Linked DNA regions of Homo sapiens: region 2 is linked to region 1. The links are contacts of gene promoters, found by promoter capture Hi-C in blood cells and fetal thymus (Javierre and others, 2016). All regions are on one chromosome and are shown on one strand. The core of a region is centred on a gene start or on the middle of the fragment in contact, and the rest is flanking DNA. Distances in the headings are between cores, read along the strand shown.

Evidence for each region. The method cuts DNA at HindIII sites, captures the fragments that hold promoters and counts their contacts. A CHiCAGO score of 5 or more calls a contact.
Region 2: a contact is called between a fragment that was not itself captured here and the fragment with the promoter of SETD4 in region 1, in 1 of 17 cell types (neutrophils). The highest score is 5.7, in neutrophils.

What each region holds. Positions count from the first base shown.
Region 1 is chr21:36,056,056-36,063,869 of GRCh38, reverse strand. It overlaps SETD4 (SET domain containing 4), which reads left to right and starts at 3,344. Exons shown (of 12, transcript NM_017438.5): 1 at 3,344-3,523; 2 at 4,946-5,054; 3 at 6,666-6,761. The coding sequence starts at 4,982. SETD4-AS1 (SETD4 antisense RNA 1) reads right to left here and starts at 3,266. Exons shown (of 3, transcript NR_186380.1): 1 at 3,249-3,266; 2 at 301-364. RefSeq lists enhancers at 3,342-3,391, 3,422-3,571. The HindIII fragment of the contact is 7,728 bases long and covers 761-7,814 here.
Region 2 is chr21:35,038,192-35,046,005 of GRCh38, reverse strand. All of the region lies in intron 2 of RUNX1 (RUNX family transcription factor 1), which reads left to right. It overlaps RUNX1-IT1 (RUNX1 intronic transcript 1), which reads left to right and starts at 6,580. Exons shown (of 1, transcript NR_026812.1): 1 at 6,580-7,814. RefSeq lists enhancers at 68-327, 1,328-1,427. The HindIII fragment of the contact is 5,143 bases long and covers 2,366-7,508 here.

The DNA of each region.
Region 1 (7,814 bases), core at 2,095-4,594:
GAGGAGTTTGGAATCTTTCCGGTTGGAGATGTTATTTGTGGTGTGTGTAGGGATGTGGGATTGTTTGGCATCCATGTGGACTGGCGAGAAGAAGCAGAGGGTGTCTGTTTTTGTTCTAGGCATTCCCAGACAAAAGACAGAGACCCAGAATCCTCTTACTAAAGAGGATGGTCAAGTTGAGAAGAAACTGGGCGTCCCCAAGGTTTCCTCTAGCTTAGTTCTGCTGGTCCTCTGAGGACCGGACGGCCAACCTGACTTTTCCCGGGTACCGCGAGAAAGCCAGGGGAGGGCAGATCTTACCAGTTGGCTGGATTAGTGTCCGATGTTGGATGTTCCAGTTGGAATTGGCAAAGGGCCTCTTGGACTGCAGCCGCATGAGGAAGAGAGAGAAAGAAAGAGAGAGAGAGAAGGAAAGAGAGAGAGGGAAAAGAGAGGATGAGGGAAAAGTGAAGTGAGAGAAAAGATGGAGCGGGTGGCCCGAGACCCTCAGGATCCAGAAATTAGCTCAGGACCAGCTGTGGTTGCCCACTGCTTCCTGGGTTGCAAGAGAGCCTCTGCCCCCAGCACCCGGCCTGGGTTTCCGCACCAAATATAAGAGTTCAAGAAAGACGTAAGAACACTAAACGCGGCTGGCAGTTAGAGACAGGTTTACCTTATATGAAACCTGACAGGTGCTCCTGGCCTGTTTCCGTCAGGAACTCTTTCTCTTAGAGACTAAGAGTATGTATTGGTTTTAGGGTGAGGGGGCTTACCACAAGCTTGGAATGTTTATGTGTGTGGAGAAGTTCATGGCAGGGTTGGAATCTCTCTGGGAAGAGGGGAGGTTATTTTGGGGTGGACATCTTTCCAGCCCTGAGGGGTGTTATCTCGGGGCTATCATCTTCCCCACTTCCCAGATGGAACGGGGTTTATCTTGGGGCTACCATGTCTCTGGTCAGGGGGGAATTTAGAATGTTTCTGGTTGAAGATATTATTTGTGATTTATGGTCATGGTGACCTTAGCCATTAGGCTGATGCCCTTTGGATTTAGGCGGTTTTTGTTTTGTTTTGTTTTGTTTTAGCCAGAGTCTTGCTCTGTCGCCCAGGATGGAGTGCAGTAGCGCTACCTCAGCTCACTGCAAGCTCCTCCTCCTGGGTTCATGCCATTCTCCTGCCTCAGCCTCTCAAGTAGCTGGGACTACAGGCGCTTACCACCATGCCCGGGTAATTTTTTGTATTTTTAGTAGAGATGGGGTTTCACCGAATTAGCCAGGATGGTCTCGATCTCCTGACCTCGTGATCTGCCCACCTCGGCCTCCCAAAGTGCTGGGATTACAGGCGTGAGCCACCGCACCTGGCCTAGGCGGTTTTTTATTAAGGTGCACTTTAGAATGAGGGGGTTGTCCAAGATGGTGATGCTCTGTCATTGTGGAACAGGGGGTTAGTTAACATCTGGTGGTGCACAAGCGGTAATTGTTTTAATATTGCTTAGGTGGAGGTGAGTGCTTGTTTAGCTGCTAGAGAAAAAGAAAAAACTTGTAACCATTAGAACAGAATTTATTCTTGAAGTGACTTAACTCTTTCCTGGAATGGCCTTAGGTCTTGTTTATAATTTTTGTATCTTATTGCCACAAAAAGTCTGTTCCATCAGTCTCATGGTCTCTATTTTAACATCAATGCTGGCCAGTTGTATCTAAACTGTAAAAGAGAGAGGGTATAATGAGGCATGTCTGACCTCACATTCCATCAGGGCTGGGAACTAAGTTTCTAAGTTTTTTTCTGGGGCCATCTTGGCCAAAAGGGGTTCCATTCAGTCAGTAGGGGCTTAGGATTTGTTTAGTTTACAGCTGTTAGAAACTATGTTAGTGTTTAAATCTTTTAGTGTTGGGGGGCAGGGGTGAATAAAATCATTTGTGTTTAGAATCTGTAGTTTAAATAGGATTTGTGCTCCGTATGCTGAGCGCCGGTCCACTGGGCCCACTTTTCTTTCTCTATACTTTGCCTCTGTGTCTCTTTTTTTTCTCAGTCTCTCATCCCACCCGATGAGAAACACCCACAGGTGTGGAGCGGCAGGCCACCCCTTCACTATTTACATAGTATTTACATTGTATTAGATGTTATAAGTAATCTAGAGATGATTTAAAGTATATGGGAGGATGTGCATAGGTTATATGCAAATATTACACCATTGTGAAAGTTGCAGAATCAAAATGGAGTCACTTGTGTCAAAACCCTGATAAATGCAGCTGGGGAAGGCCTTGAAGGAAGGGTTCTCATGCACTACGCCTCATAACAAGAATTGTCACAAAAGACCCTAACCTTGCAGAAAGGCCCAATCTTAAACACAGAAAATCCTTCTGCAAGGACATCTGTCCAGCAACTTTGGACTGATGCTACCTTTGTTATTCATTCTTTTAGCCAAAGATAATTGATTTAAAGCAATTCATATAATCTTCATTTTCCTTTTAAAAACATCTCCTTGCCTCAACCTCCCCCAAAACGCACACAGTTTACTATGGCATGCATATTCCCATTGCAATGCTACTCCCAGATAAATCTCATTTTCTTTTAGGGAGCCTCTTTTGTTACTTAGGTTTACACCATTGTATACAAGGGACTTGAGCATTCTAATTCTGGTATCCGCAGGGTCCTGGAACCATTCCCCCACGGACACTAAGGGACAACTGTACTTGTTTTTCATGACAGAAAACATGTTTAGGAGTACTAATTTTTTTTCCCCCATAGAAGATTTCCATAGAAGGGTTTTGGAGAGAGACACCACAGGAACATGCTATCAGCATGATTTCTTCCTGATGTTATCCTTGACCACCCGGTAAGGTACTGTTTGCCAGGTTTCTCCACTGTAGTCCCCAACACCATTCCAGGCTGTACTCTTTGGAATCAAGTTACTAGGCATAGCCCATAATCAAAGTGGGGGTGGGTGGGGCAGAAATCGAGCTCCCGCTATTGGAAGAAGGGGTATTTAGATATATTATTTAGAATTTTCCTGTGAGGCGGGTCCTGGGGCCAGAATGAAACGGTGGAATGGGGGCGGGGATTGGCGAGCAAAGTGACTCGACCCGGCAAACCCAGCCTGGCAGGAAAGCCCGAGGTCTGGGCGAACAGGGCCGCGCGCCCTAGGTGGTTTAACTTCGTAAGGAAAGACTCCGCAGGCCGGCTTTTCAGTGCGCAGCTTGCTCGCCTGCGGGTTACTGGGTTTTCTGACCCCTGACTCGACGTAGGGGTTATGGGGCTGTGGGTGTGCCGACCTCGTCCCCGACTGTACTGGGCGTTGGCGGCGAGTCCGCGAACACTGCGCATGCGCGAGCCGGAAGCTGCCGCCCGCGGCGGAAGGGGCGGACCCGGGAGACTGAGGACTTGGATTGCTTAAGGACACCAGGCAGGCGCGACAGCCTTCAGCCTCTCCCTCTGCAGTTTTGGCCGGTTCCTTTAACTTGCCTTCATCTGGGGCTGTTTGGTATTTCCACGTGCCTTGGGCCCGCCCACTGCAGCCTCCATCTTGGAAGCGGCCGCCGGCGCCTAGGTGAGCTAGTAGGACTTCCGGGTCGGGCCTCCAGTTGCCCGGGTAACGGGAGCAGAGTCGGCGGGGTGCGTTCCTTAGTCTTTCATTCATCAGCGTAAAAAGAACTGAGTTTAGGTCGCAGGTCCCCTCCAGGGCAGGCATTATCGTGTGCGCTGCAGTAACCTCTCATCTTGTGGAGTCCTACACTTAGCGCATGTTGCTCCGGCGCGCTGCGTAAAGCTGAGGAGCCTGAGGCCCGAGGTCCGATGCTCGCCTGGCTGGCCTATGGCTGCGGGAGCGGTGTGTGTCGGACCGTAGGACGGCCTCACGGCTAGAGTTTGAGGACTATGGGGGCGGGGACGGTGCCTGTGTCTGTGGCGGTCACCGGGCTTCACGTGGTCCTCAGCAGGGTGATGGTGGACAGCTCGCGCGAGGGCCCGGGAGTCTTGGGGACACTTCCCGGCGCGGTCTGTGGACTGAGCGCTGGGACCCGCACCGAACCAGCCGCCGTTCGCCTCTGGAGCTGGACATGCCGACTTTCGTTAGGTCAAATAATGAACCTTATACTGCGGAAGTGCGGTATTAATATTGCCTGGAGTTCTTGTCTCTTGCTCATTTCTGCCCTCGTATGTTTTAGAAGTAGATTTATTTTTTATTTTTATTTTTTTAATTTATTTTTTGTGACAGAGTCTCGCTCTGTCGCCCAGGTTGGAGTGCAGTGGCGTGATCTCGTCTAGCTGCAGCTTCCGCCTCCTGAGATCAAGCGATTCTCCTGCCTCAGCCTCCCCAGTAGCTGGTATTACAGGTGCCTGCCACCACGCCCGGCTGATTTTTGTATTTTTAGTAGAGACGGGGTTTCACCATGTTGGCCAGGCTGGTCTTGAACTCCTGACCTCAGCCCGCCTCGGGCTCCCAAAGTGCTGGTTTTACAGGCGTGAGCCACTGTACCCAGCCATTATTTTATTTTTATTTATGTATTTATTTTTTTATTTTTTTGAGACGGAGCCTCGCTCTGTCGCCCAGGCTGGAGTGCAGTAGCGCGATCTCGGCTCACTGCAACCTCCGCCTCCCAGGTTCAAGCGATTCTCCTGCCTCAGCCTCCCAAGTAGCTGGGATTACAGGCGTGTGCCACCACGCCTAGCTATTTTTTGTATTTTTAGTAGATTAAGCTGTAGTCACTAGGTCTGCAAGATAAAACTGTTTTAGAGGGACTGATATAATGGGAATTCTGTTACTGTAGGGATCATGATTTAGCTCACAGTATAAACGTTTCATGTACAAAAGCACTTGAGAGAAACAGTTTACCAAAACATACATTTGTATACTTAAAGGTACAAAGAACAGTGATTATCATATAACTGGAAAGTAAATCAAAGAAATGTTTTTTATTTTAGATTGAGCATTTCCACAGAAATTACAGTTTTGTCCTTTTTGAAAAAATAGAACTGTATTTCAGAAAAAAGAAACTACAGTTTTAGCATGCAGAAAGGAAAAGGGAGAACAAGCCGGATCAGAAGACGAAAACTCTGCGGAAGTTCTGAATCAAGAGGAGGTATGGTTTTTCTTTTAGTACCAGTAATGAAAAAAGAAATCCTTTTGTGATTGCTTGTTTGTTCATACGTAGCTTTTCTTTCTTTCTTTCTTTTTTCTGAGACGGATTCTCGCTCTGTCACCCAGGCTGGAGTGCAGTGGTGTCATCTTGGCTCACTGCAACCTCTGCTTCCCCGGTTCAAGCGATTCTCCTGCCTCAGCCTCCCAAGTAGCTGGGACTACAGGCGTGAGCCAGCATGCTCGGCCTAACACATAGCTTTTCTCAAAGGCACACAGTGTTCAAAGAGAATCTTTCTTTTTTTTTTTTTTTTGGAGACAAGGTACATTCTGTTACCCAGATTGGAATGCAGTGGCGTGATCATGGCTTGATCTCCCAGGCTCAAGTGATCTCCTCCCTTAGCCTCCCTCCTGCCTCAGCCTCCCAAGTACCTGGGACTACAGGTACATGCCACTGCACCCGGCTAATGTTTTTTTAAATTTGTTGTAGTGACAGGGTCTATGTTGCACAGGCTGGTCTTGAACTCCTGGGCTCGAGTGGTCCTCCTGCCTTGGCCTCCCCAAAGCACTGGGATTACAGGTGTGAGCCACTGTGCCCAGCCCAAAGAGAATATTTCTTAAATAACACTCTTTTTTAATGGTGCCATTGTATTCTTTTAGATCCTGGTGGGAATGTGAAGATAACTAACTCATTGTTTCAACTGTCTTCTCTGGGGATGACTCCCAACTTTCTTTTTCTGGTCTTGACCTTCAGCTATCTGTAGGATATCAATGTTTGGATGTAAATTTATGACTTCAAATTCAGGGTAACCCTGTCTGAAGAAGATACTGTATCTTGTTCAATACAAAAGTGCTTGGCCATCTGGAAAGTCCTATGTAAATCCAACTGGATATGGTACAAGATATCGATAAGCTCACTTTTTTTTTTGCTGATGGAGGTCCAGTTGTTTGATCATCATTTATTGAAAAGACTATCTTCTTCCACTGATTTGCCTTTGCACTTTGTCAAAAATTTACGTGTGGACCTCTTCCTATTTTCTGTGTTGTTCCTTTGACCTATTTGTGTCTGTTTTGACAATATCACACTAATTTGATTACTGTAGCTTTATAATAAGTTTTAAAATCAATCTTTCAAAGATATTGGGGCTATTCTAGGCTTTTTACATTTCCACATGAATTTTGGGATCATCTTGTTAATTCCTGTATGAAAGCCTGCTTGAATTTTGATTAGGATTACATTGAATGAATATAGTCGTATGTTGCATAAGTATGTTTTGGTTGATGGATCACATGTACAGTGGTGGTCCTCAGATTATAATATTGTATTTTTTTTTTTTTTAAGAGATGGGGTCTTTCTGTGTTGGGCAGGCTGGGCTCAAACTCCTGGCCTCAAGCAGTCCTCCCGCCTTGGCCTCCCAAATGCTGGGAATACAGAAGTGAGTCATTGCGCCTGGCCAATACTGTGTTTTTATTGTAACTTTTCTATGTTTAGATACACCAATTCTTACTATTGTGTAAGTCTGTCTGACACATTTCATCAGACATGTTCTTTTAAAAATGGTAATCCGATTATATAGTGGTTTTAATCACCATTTGTTCTCTCCTTGCCTGATAGTGAATGAGAGCCACAAGTCTGAATTTATAGAGCTGAGGAAGTGGCTGAAAGCTAGGAAGTTTCAAGATTCAAACTTAGCGCCTGCTTGTTTTCCAGGTAAGATCTAGCCTTCAGCTGTCCTGCCCTTTCCCACACGAGAGCCAGGTAGACAGCAGGGGCCACTCTTGCAGGTGGGCCTCAGCAGATATTGTCCTTCAGCTGGTTTGCATGTGTTCCCCTTGGGTTGGAGGAGGAGTCCCCTGTGTATGGCCAGTTAATTGCAGAGCAGTGGGCTTCAGCACTGAACTGAGGTAGACTGACATTCTTCTCTGGAACTTGTGCTTATTAGGGAGGTTAGGTTAACATTTTGCCAGGCGTGGTGGCTCACATCTGTAATCCCAGCACTTTGGGAGGCTGAGGCAGGCAGATCACTTGAGCTCATGAGTTTGAGACCAGCCTGGCCAACATGACAACATCCTGTCTCTACTAAAAGTACAAAAGTTAGCCAGGCGCGGTGGTGTGCCCTGTAGTCCCAGCTACTCTAGAGGCTTAGGCAGGAGGATTGCTTGAGCCCGGGAGGCTGAGGCTGCAGAGAGCCATGATCATGCCCCTGCACTCCAGCTTGGGCGATAGAGTGAGACCTTGTCTCAAAAAACTAACAAAAAACAAAAACCACTTTCTTCTGGAACATTCTCTCACAGAAGTTGGGCAGCTTGCTATGGGTGTGTGCCTGCATACATGGCCACTCCACTCTTCCCACAGGTGGGCAAGAGATAACCACAGGGAGGACCAAGATGCTCTTTAAAAGGATTTGGAGTCTGCTGTAGCACAGAGATAGTGGTGGTGCAATTAGGGCCCCAAAATTCTACATCACAGGGCAGGCTGCATCTTACAGAAAAGTCAAAGCATATGCCACACAATGCTCCCCTTGGCCATTAGAATTATTATTCAAGTACCCATTAGGTAATTGAACTTTGAGCAAATTAACTTCCTCATATACCACACGCCAAGGCAAATGATTTCCCACTTGTGCCCCTTGCTGAGTGAGGTGATGTGTGTAAAGTTGTTCTCCATGAGTCAGTTACACATCATGACTTTGAACTAAAATGCTTGATTTGAGCCATTTTCTATTAAGGCCCCTTCTAGTTGATGGTCATGAACCATATTGTC
Region 2 (7,814 bases), core at 3,688-6,187, 1.0 Mb after region 1:
ACATATTTTTGCAAAATGGCTCAGGTAGCCTTGTTCTTAGAAGTGGCTTAGTGGTCTATGCAAAGCCTGAACACTCACATGCCTCTGCGTTCCTAGAACCACAGGTAAAAATCTCAGCGAGACCGACTCCCTGCTTGTCTTCTCAGCGGTTCAAGTTTACCCCACTGAAGCAGTCTTTCAAAGGGAATTGCCAAGTACAAAGCTGCATGTATAAAGTATGTTCTTCTCTAAGCATCGGCTTGCCGCTCTTTTCAGAAGAATATTTATTAAGACACTTCTTCTGGCTTGACTGAACACTTAAGATCTTAAGACTTCAGGCTTAAGCCACAGAAATTTATTTTCACACAGTTCTGGAGGGAGACTGGAGGTGTGAGATCAAGGTGTCGGCAAGGCTGATTTCTGGTGAGGCCTCTCTCCTTGGTTTTGCAGACAGCTCCCTTCTCCCTGTTTCATCACATGGTTATCCCTCTGTGTGTGTCTGTATCCTAATCTCTTCTTATAAGGATACCAATTGCATTGTATTGGGGCTAGCCTAATGACGTCATTTTAAAACCCTATGTCCAAATAGTGTCAAATTATGAGCACCTTGGGGTTAGGACTTCAATGTATTAATTCTAGGGAGACATACTGCAGTCCCTAACAGTGGGTCTTAGCAAATCTGACCCACCCTGGCCCACAAGGAAACTGTGGGATGGGGCATCCTGGCTGCTCTCTTGGATGTTAAAGAATCAGACTGTAGTTCCTCCTTTGTGAGATGGAGTTTCACATCTGAAACTGCCCACACATTTTGAAACTATAAAAAAAAAAGGTGTGATAAAACTATCTAAACTCACAATCATGCCTTTGCCATTTAGACTTTTTGCACGCTAAGAAACTGTAGAAAATGACGAGTAATTTTGAAATGTTTAAGTGTTAAAAGAGCAAATGGCAGCCGCCCCAAAGAAACCTCCTCTTGGCTCTGCTTTCTTGGGGAGGATTGTCTTTGTACTTCAGACTGACTTTATTAGTGGGGTTTAGGGGGCTGTAGGAGGCCCCACAGCTGCTCACACACCGAGTACAGGGGCATGGAGCAACCAGTAGCAGAAGCACCTTTGGAAACAGCAACTGACCCGATTCTGAATGGCAAGAAGCCTTTCTGAGCTTTTGAAAGCAAATGAGTAGCTGAGACGTTCCTACATTCTCTCAAAATAGATCCGAAAGATGTGCTCAGAAAATATGTAGCCCTTTACTGAGAAATCAAGCCTGGTGAGATGCTGGGACAGAGGACGGCTGCACAGCCGCTGTGCACACACAGACTTTAATAAGGAGCCCAAGGCCTAGAGAGAAGAGTCTGGAGGCATAAGAGCACCTGCTATTAGAGAAAGCAATGGCAGGAGGTCTGTGCAGGGAATGTGCTCAGATGACACAGTGATGGCCTTTTCTTTCTTTTCTTTTTTCTGGCTTTCATCAAATAGCATATAGAACTTCTCTCTTGAGCCTTAGTTTCCTCATCTGCAGAGTAAGGATTGCAATAGTACCTGTTATTAAGGTAGCTGTGTGGACCGAATTAATCTGTGTAAGGTGCTTTGCCCAGCCATATAAAGTAAGCAATAAATCTGAATGGTGGCTATCAATGTTCAGTTATCTAAGAAGGCAGCCAGTCAACCGCTGTCTGCTCTAGGGAGGGAGAGGTCACAATGCCCTGGAGGACATTACAGGAGGCTCCCTGGAGAGAGGGACACAGGAGTTGGGGGAGGGGAAGTTGGGAACAAAGGAAAGAAGGAAGAGTGGTCTAGGCCGAGAGTACAGCCTGGGCAAAGTTAGAGCTGCAGGATCCCACATGGGCATGGACAGCAGTGGGTAACTCAGTCCACCCTAAGGGCTTTTCACCAGCAGGTCAGCCTTCCTTCCCTTGTGGAAAAAGAACGAGAGCCCTTTATGAAATTCAACTTAACAAGTTTTGATTTTAAATATGGAGGCTAGTTGGGGCAGGATGTCATGCTAAGTCTTTGATCTGAACACACAAGGACAACAGAGATGTCTCTTTTCATTGAGACTGCTGGTGTAGCTTTATTTTCTCCAAGGCTCTTCTTAAGGAAAAGGCCATTTTGCCTGTATACCTTTGAGCAGGTTCTCTGGGCCTCTGAGAGACTCCCATTTTCCCTGCTCCTTGGGAACATTTGTAATCATGTACTTTGTCAAAGCCCAGACATGAAGGTAGCTTTGATGGCTTGTCTTGTTGGAGGCAGCAGAGGAGGCCCACACAGGAAACTCAAGCAAATTTTCAGTTTCTCAGGTAACTTCCTAGTGACCTAGATGAGTCAATAGATGTCTTTGTGTCTCATTTGAGTTCTGCAAAATGGGCTAATAATATTCTAGACAAGCTTGCATCTAAATTACCAAGTTCCTGTTGGAAGTCTTTACATGCATCAGAAAGAGGTACCATAAAACACATCACAAATCTTCTTAGCTTAATAACACAAAGCCACTTAAAAATATTTTATTTTCTGTTTAGAAAATAGTTCTCCCATCATTTCACAAATGCAAGATATTTTCCCTCATTTTCGTAATTGCTTTCTCCAACTCCCATTTTTCAAGAAATCTTCAGAAGCTACACTGGTGCCTGAACAGATATTAAAATGTTCAAAGCACTTTTCCCACAACTCTTGTTTCTCGGCCTCCCCTGCTCCTCCCCATCAGATGCCACCAGTCCCCTTCTTTAGCCTTTTTGCTGAGCCTCCAGCCAAGGCAAAGAGGTATGTCTTTCTTGACCTCTTCCCTCTCATAAAATATAATAACTAGGATGTCCTGGAGTGGTAAAAAGGGAGCATTTCCTTTGAGATCTTTGCTGACCGTGAACACAATCAGGGAGTACTTTACGAGAACACAGGCTGGCTCTTGAACACAAAACAGGGCTCAAAACCTCCTGTCACCTTCAACATGCTGGGAGGATAAGCTCAGACACACTGCTCTCACTTGCGCAGGCTTCACTCTTTGTTGGGGAGACACGTGTTATACTCTCTTGGCTCTCTGAATCTCTCTCTTTCTCTCCCTCCCTCATCTTGCAATAACACTGAGTAATGATGCCAGAAAGGAGCCAAGGTGGAGGAATAAACACTAAATCCGAAACATGACGGAAATTATGTATTTTATTGCAGTGACAGAAAGAGTAAGGCCCTTGCTCAGGTTTACCCATGAAAATTATGTTTGGCTGCACGTAGAGAAAAGCTGACCACAGTGGCTTGAGCAGACGGGCAGGAGTTCCAGAGTGAGCAGTCCAGGCTGATACGGTGGGGTGCAGGACACTCCTATGTTTTGGTCCCACCATGCTGAGGCCAGGGAGAGATGGCCTGCACCTCTGATCTGTCCAGGCAGAAAGGACATGGGAGGCCTCAACCCCTTCTTGTGGGTCCTGGTATTTTTATTCAGGAAGGGAAGCCCTTCTCTGCAAACTTTCGCTGACATATTGCTTAGGCCACAACTAGGTCACAGGCCTCTGGCTGGAGGGAACTGAGGACAATGGAGTTGTCACTTTCCAGCCTGGAGAGTGGAGGGAAGCAGAGAGGAAGGTAGCTGGGAGCAGATGTCTCGTGAACCCAGAGCCACATCTGCCAGACCTGGTGACAAAGACAGGCTGTGTGCCTTCCCAGTCATATCTTGTATCATTTGTTTTCTGTGCCAGCTGGGCTTTGGAAACAAATGCAGAGAAACTTTATGTTCTTCCTTCATTCCCTCTTGGAAGTTGCAGATGGATGCCAAGGGTGAATATTTATTGTTGACCCATTGAAAGCAAACTGGACAGGAGAAGGGATGAGGTGGGGGAAGGGGCTAGGTTAAATGGATCCAAGTTCACACCTATTTTCAGTGTCAAAGCCCCAAATCACACTTGAGCGTCTCCTCAAGTTAGAATGAGCAATAGAAAACCAGACAGCCCTGTATCTATGGGAATGTTGCTTGCATCAGAGCCACCACACCTTGCTGTGAGGTTGATCGGTTTCTCGCAGCTGGAAATAGTTGCTTCCCGCCCCCCATCTTCCTCACTCTTTTAAACTCTCAAAAATCCCCCAGCCTCCCAAATTTGTTTTAATTTTTAAGAGAATTCTTTTCTACAAAAGAGGGAAACCTTCTTTCAAATGGCCCTTCATAAATTTCCCTAAAGAGGTTTTTATCTCTGATAGAAATATGAAAAACAGATAACCAGATAATTGCCCTCTATCTAGGCTTTAAACACTTATTCATACATTGAATTTCTGCAAGTTACAGATGATTGTTGCTGTGTGATTACTGGCCCTGTCTATTTCCTCAGCATGGATGCAAATCTTTCTCCCTGAGAAAGTCATTGCTTCGTTAAAAAAAAAAAAAAAAAGAAAGAAAGAAAAAGAAGAAAGAAAGGATGAATGAAAAGAAAGTTGTTATTCAGTTTTTCTCTTGAAATTAGAAATTTCTTTTTGTTTTGCTTTCATTTTGTTTTTCTGCAAGATCGGTGTTCATTTAGAGAATTGTTGATTTTGTATGCAGCACTGCCCTCCCATGCCATGGTCCATATGTGTCCATTTTTTGATGGACTTCTTTTTAAACAATGAGTTCCCCAAGACATTTTTGGGGCCTCAAATGGGAAAGGTCATCACAAATAGAAATCTCAGTTTGCTAGTTGGGCTTGCTCAATCGCTCTGCTGATCTCAGGACTGATGCTGCTTTGCATAAATGCGAAGTTCATGTTAAATTGATTCTAAATCAAATACTCAACGTATTCAGTCTTGAAACATGTCCATTGGGAGAGAGAACTATGCAGCTCCAACATTTTGCAAAGATTCTACTTTGCTTTCTTTGCCAACATCCAACTTTTACTTCTGGGCGTTAGAATACCCTCCGTAGAGACTGTGACTTCTCAAAAGAAACTTTGCTAGTCTCGAATGGAGAATGAAATAATAAGATTTGAGCAATAAATCAAATATAGCCTGAGAGCAACACCACAGAGCAGCCTCTGTCATCTCCTCTCCTTGGGAGGTACGTGGGTCTTGATCAGCTCTCATGTGCTTCTGAAAATGTGTAGGTTTTCATATATATGTTTTTCATTGTTAGTAGATCCTAAAGAAAGACCCAGAAAATCTTGCAGCAGTCAGCTTGCCAGATGGGGGTTATGTTAAAAAGAGCAAACAGAAGTCAGAGCTCTGAACACACCGCAGGGTATTCCATAGTCACATTCCATTGTGGGTGAGTTTTTGTTGTTGGTTTTTTTTTTTTTTTTTTTTTTTGGATGGAGTCTACTAGCTCTGTCACCAGGCTGGAGTGCAGTGGCCCCATCTCAGCTCACTGCAATCTCCGCCTCCCACGTTCAGCCATTCTCCTGCCTCAGCCTCCTGAGTAGCTGGGATTACAGGTGTGTGCCACCACGCCCGGCTAATTTTTGTATTTTTAGTAGAGACAGGTTTTCACCATGTTGGCCAGGATGGTTTCGATCTCCCGACCTCGTGATCTGCCCGCCTCAGCCTCCCAAAATGCTGGGATTACAGGTATGAGCCACTGCACCCGGCCCATCCTAGGTGAGTTTTTTAAGGGAGACAAAAAATGTCAGAGTGGCACTCATTGCTCAAGAGAGAAGCACTTCCCCTTTTACTGTGCAAAATTTTATAATATGTATAGCTATCAATGTTTGTTTCTTATTACTGCCCCAGAATGTGCAAAAGAGAGTTTAGGTCAACTAAGATACATTGGTTTGAGTGCCATTTTTTTCAGGAGCAGTTTTAACACCAACCACAGTTTGCTGCACTTTCTTACACAGCTTCTGTTTGCACTTTGAACTCTGTGCACTGAGCCCCTCATTCCACACCATCTGCAGGCTGCATCTGGGCAGCTTCATCCAGCTCGGTAACAGTCACAGCTGAACTTGACATTCACCCACTTTGAAAGTATAGAATTCATAAAATCTGAAACCACATATGTGTATAAAACCCATGCAAGAGTGGGTAGGAACTAAAAGGAGGAGAAAAAGTAGTCCTCCCCTTCAGGAGTGTTCTCTCTTATCCCAGCCCCTTTCATGTAATGAATGGGTGAATGGGTGAAAATGAAATTATTTAGGCATTGACTGACAGGTAGGAACAGAAACTCAGGCTTCTAGTTTATTATTATTTATTATTATTGAATCTACTGTTTCTAAAGATGAGAATGGCTTTTACTTCCAAAGTTCTAGAGGAGAGGAACAACGTTAAGCAACCTTAAACAAATATTAGCACTGTGAAAGGTGCAGGGTCATATAAAGAAGTAGAAGTGCCGACAATGAAAATTCTATCCAACTGTCAATCATTCCATATCATTACTTCATTTTTTTAAATAAAGGCTGTGTCTCCCATATGCTTCCCTCCAGGTTGTATTCAAAACAAAGAAATAATTGTATTACAGATGTGAATAAATCTGTTTAAAAAATAAGTGAACCCTGAGACATATGAACTATGAGACATTGTTCTATATGATGCTTTGTAAGTTTTATGTGCTGTGTCATAGAGTTATATAGAGTTATGTATATATATAGTTCTGTATAGTTTCAGTTGGCATCTAAAAATTATATAACTTTATTTTTTAAAATCTATAATTATAAATATTTTTAAACTGCTAGAAAGGAAGAGCCGAATATTTGGCTGGAGTGATTTTTAGACATTTCTCTACCTTAGGGCACCAGAGAGGTTCACTTGCCCAGGGTTCCATAGCTGGTTGGTGCCAGAGTCCGAACGAGAAACCAGGTCTTCTCAGCTCCTGTCACCCACAGTTTTGCAGACACTGAATTTATGAGGTGGATTCCATTCAAGCATGCACATAACTAGCAGACACTTCTCCTAATCCTCCTCAATTCCCCTTTGCATTGCTCAGATACCACAATCCTTTGCAGGTTAAATCCCTTCACCTTGTGAACTCATTAGGCAGGGCAATGTATATGAATCCCTGAGTCCTTAAGAACGTCCTTAGGCTGTGTTAGAAATGCAGTTGCCATAGGAGTAACCGGCCCCTGCTGTCATTTGGATGTTCTCTCTTCCCCAAAATCCAGCACCACCTTGGTTAAGCACCCACCATGTGCCTGCCCACCTGGCTCCTTAGGCAATGTTACAATTAACCAGGTTGGTTTTGATGAGGGTCTAGGGCAAAATTTGAACCACCACAACAGCCAATGTGCACATCCATGCAGAGGGTTCAGAGATGGCCTCGGCCAAGGCTGCCAGGCTTCAGCTCTGGAAGGAGCCCTGGGAAGTGGGAGATCTTTGTATAAAAATTGGAACCCAAACTATAATTCCCATTAGGGATATATATGCTCACATCACTCCTGATTCAAAGCTCAGAAGTGGCCTCTCAGGAGAAATAAAGGTCTCTCTCTCTCTCTCTCTCTATCTCACACACACACACACACACACACACACACACACAGAGAGAGAGAGAGAGAGAGAGAGAGAGAGAGAGAGAGAGAGGCCAGCATTCAAAATTCCCATGCTTAGGGAATCCATTGGGACTTCTCCCCAGGATGTACTGAATTCAAGGAAGCTTTCTCTAGGTGTAGCAGAAACTGCTGCTGTCATGTCTCTGCTCACCAGGACGTAGCTTCTCTCTACAGACCTTTATTTCTTTCCCTGGAGGCTTCAGTCCATGTTGAAGTGTAAACTCCACTCAGCTCCAGGAGGAATCGTGTTTTCTTTATCACCAGGGGCTTCTTCTACGAGTTGCCTTTGATAGGGAGGCCAGGAGGAAGATAGGCCCAAGCTCAGGGGTGGGATCGGGGAGCAGGAAGCCTGTGGGCTTTAGAATCGAGGTATTGGTTTCTCCCTGTCACCATCATCCACCACCTGTGTGAA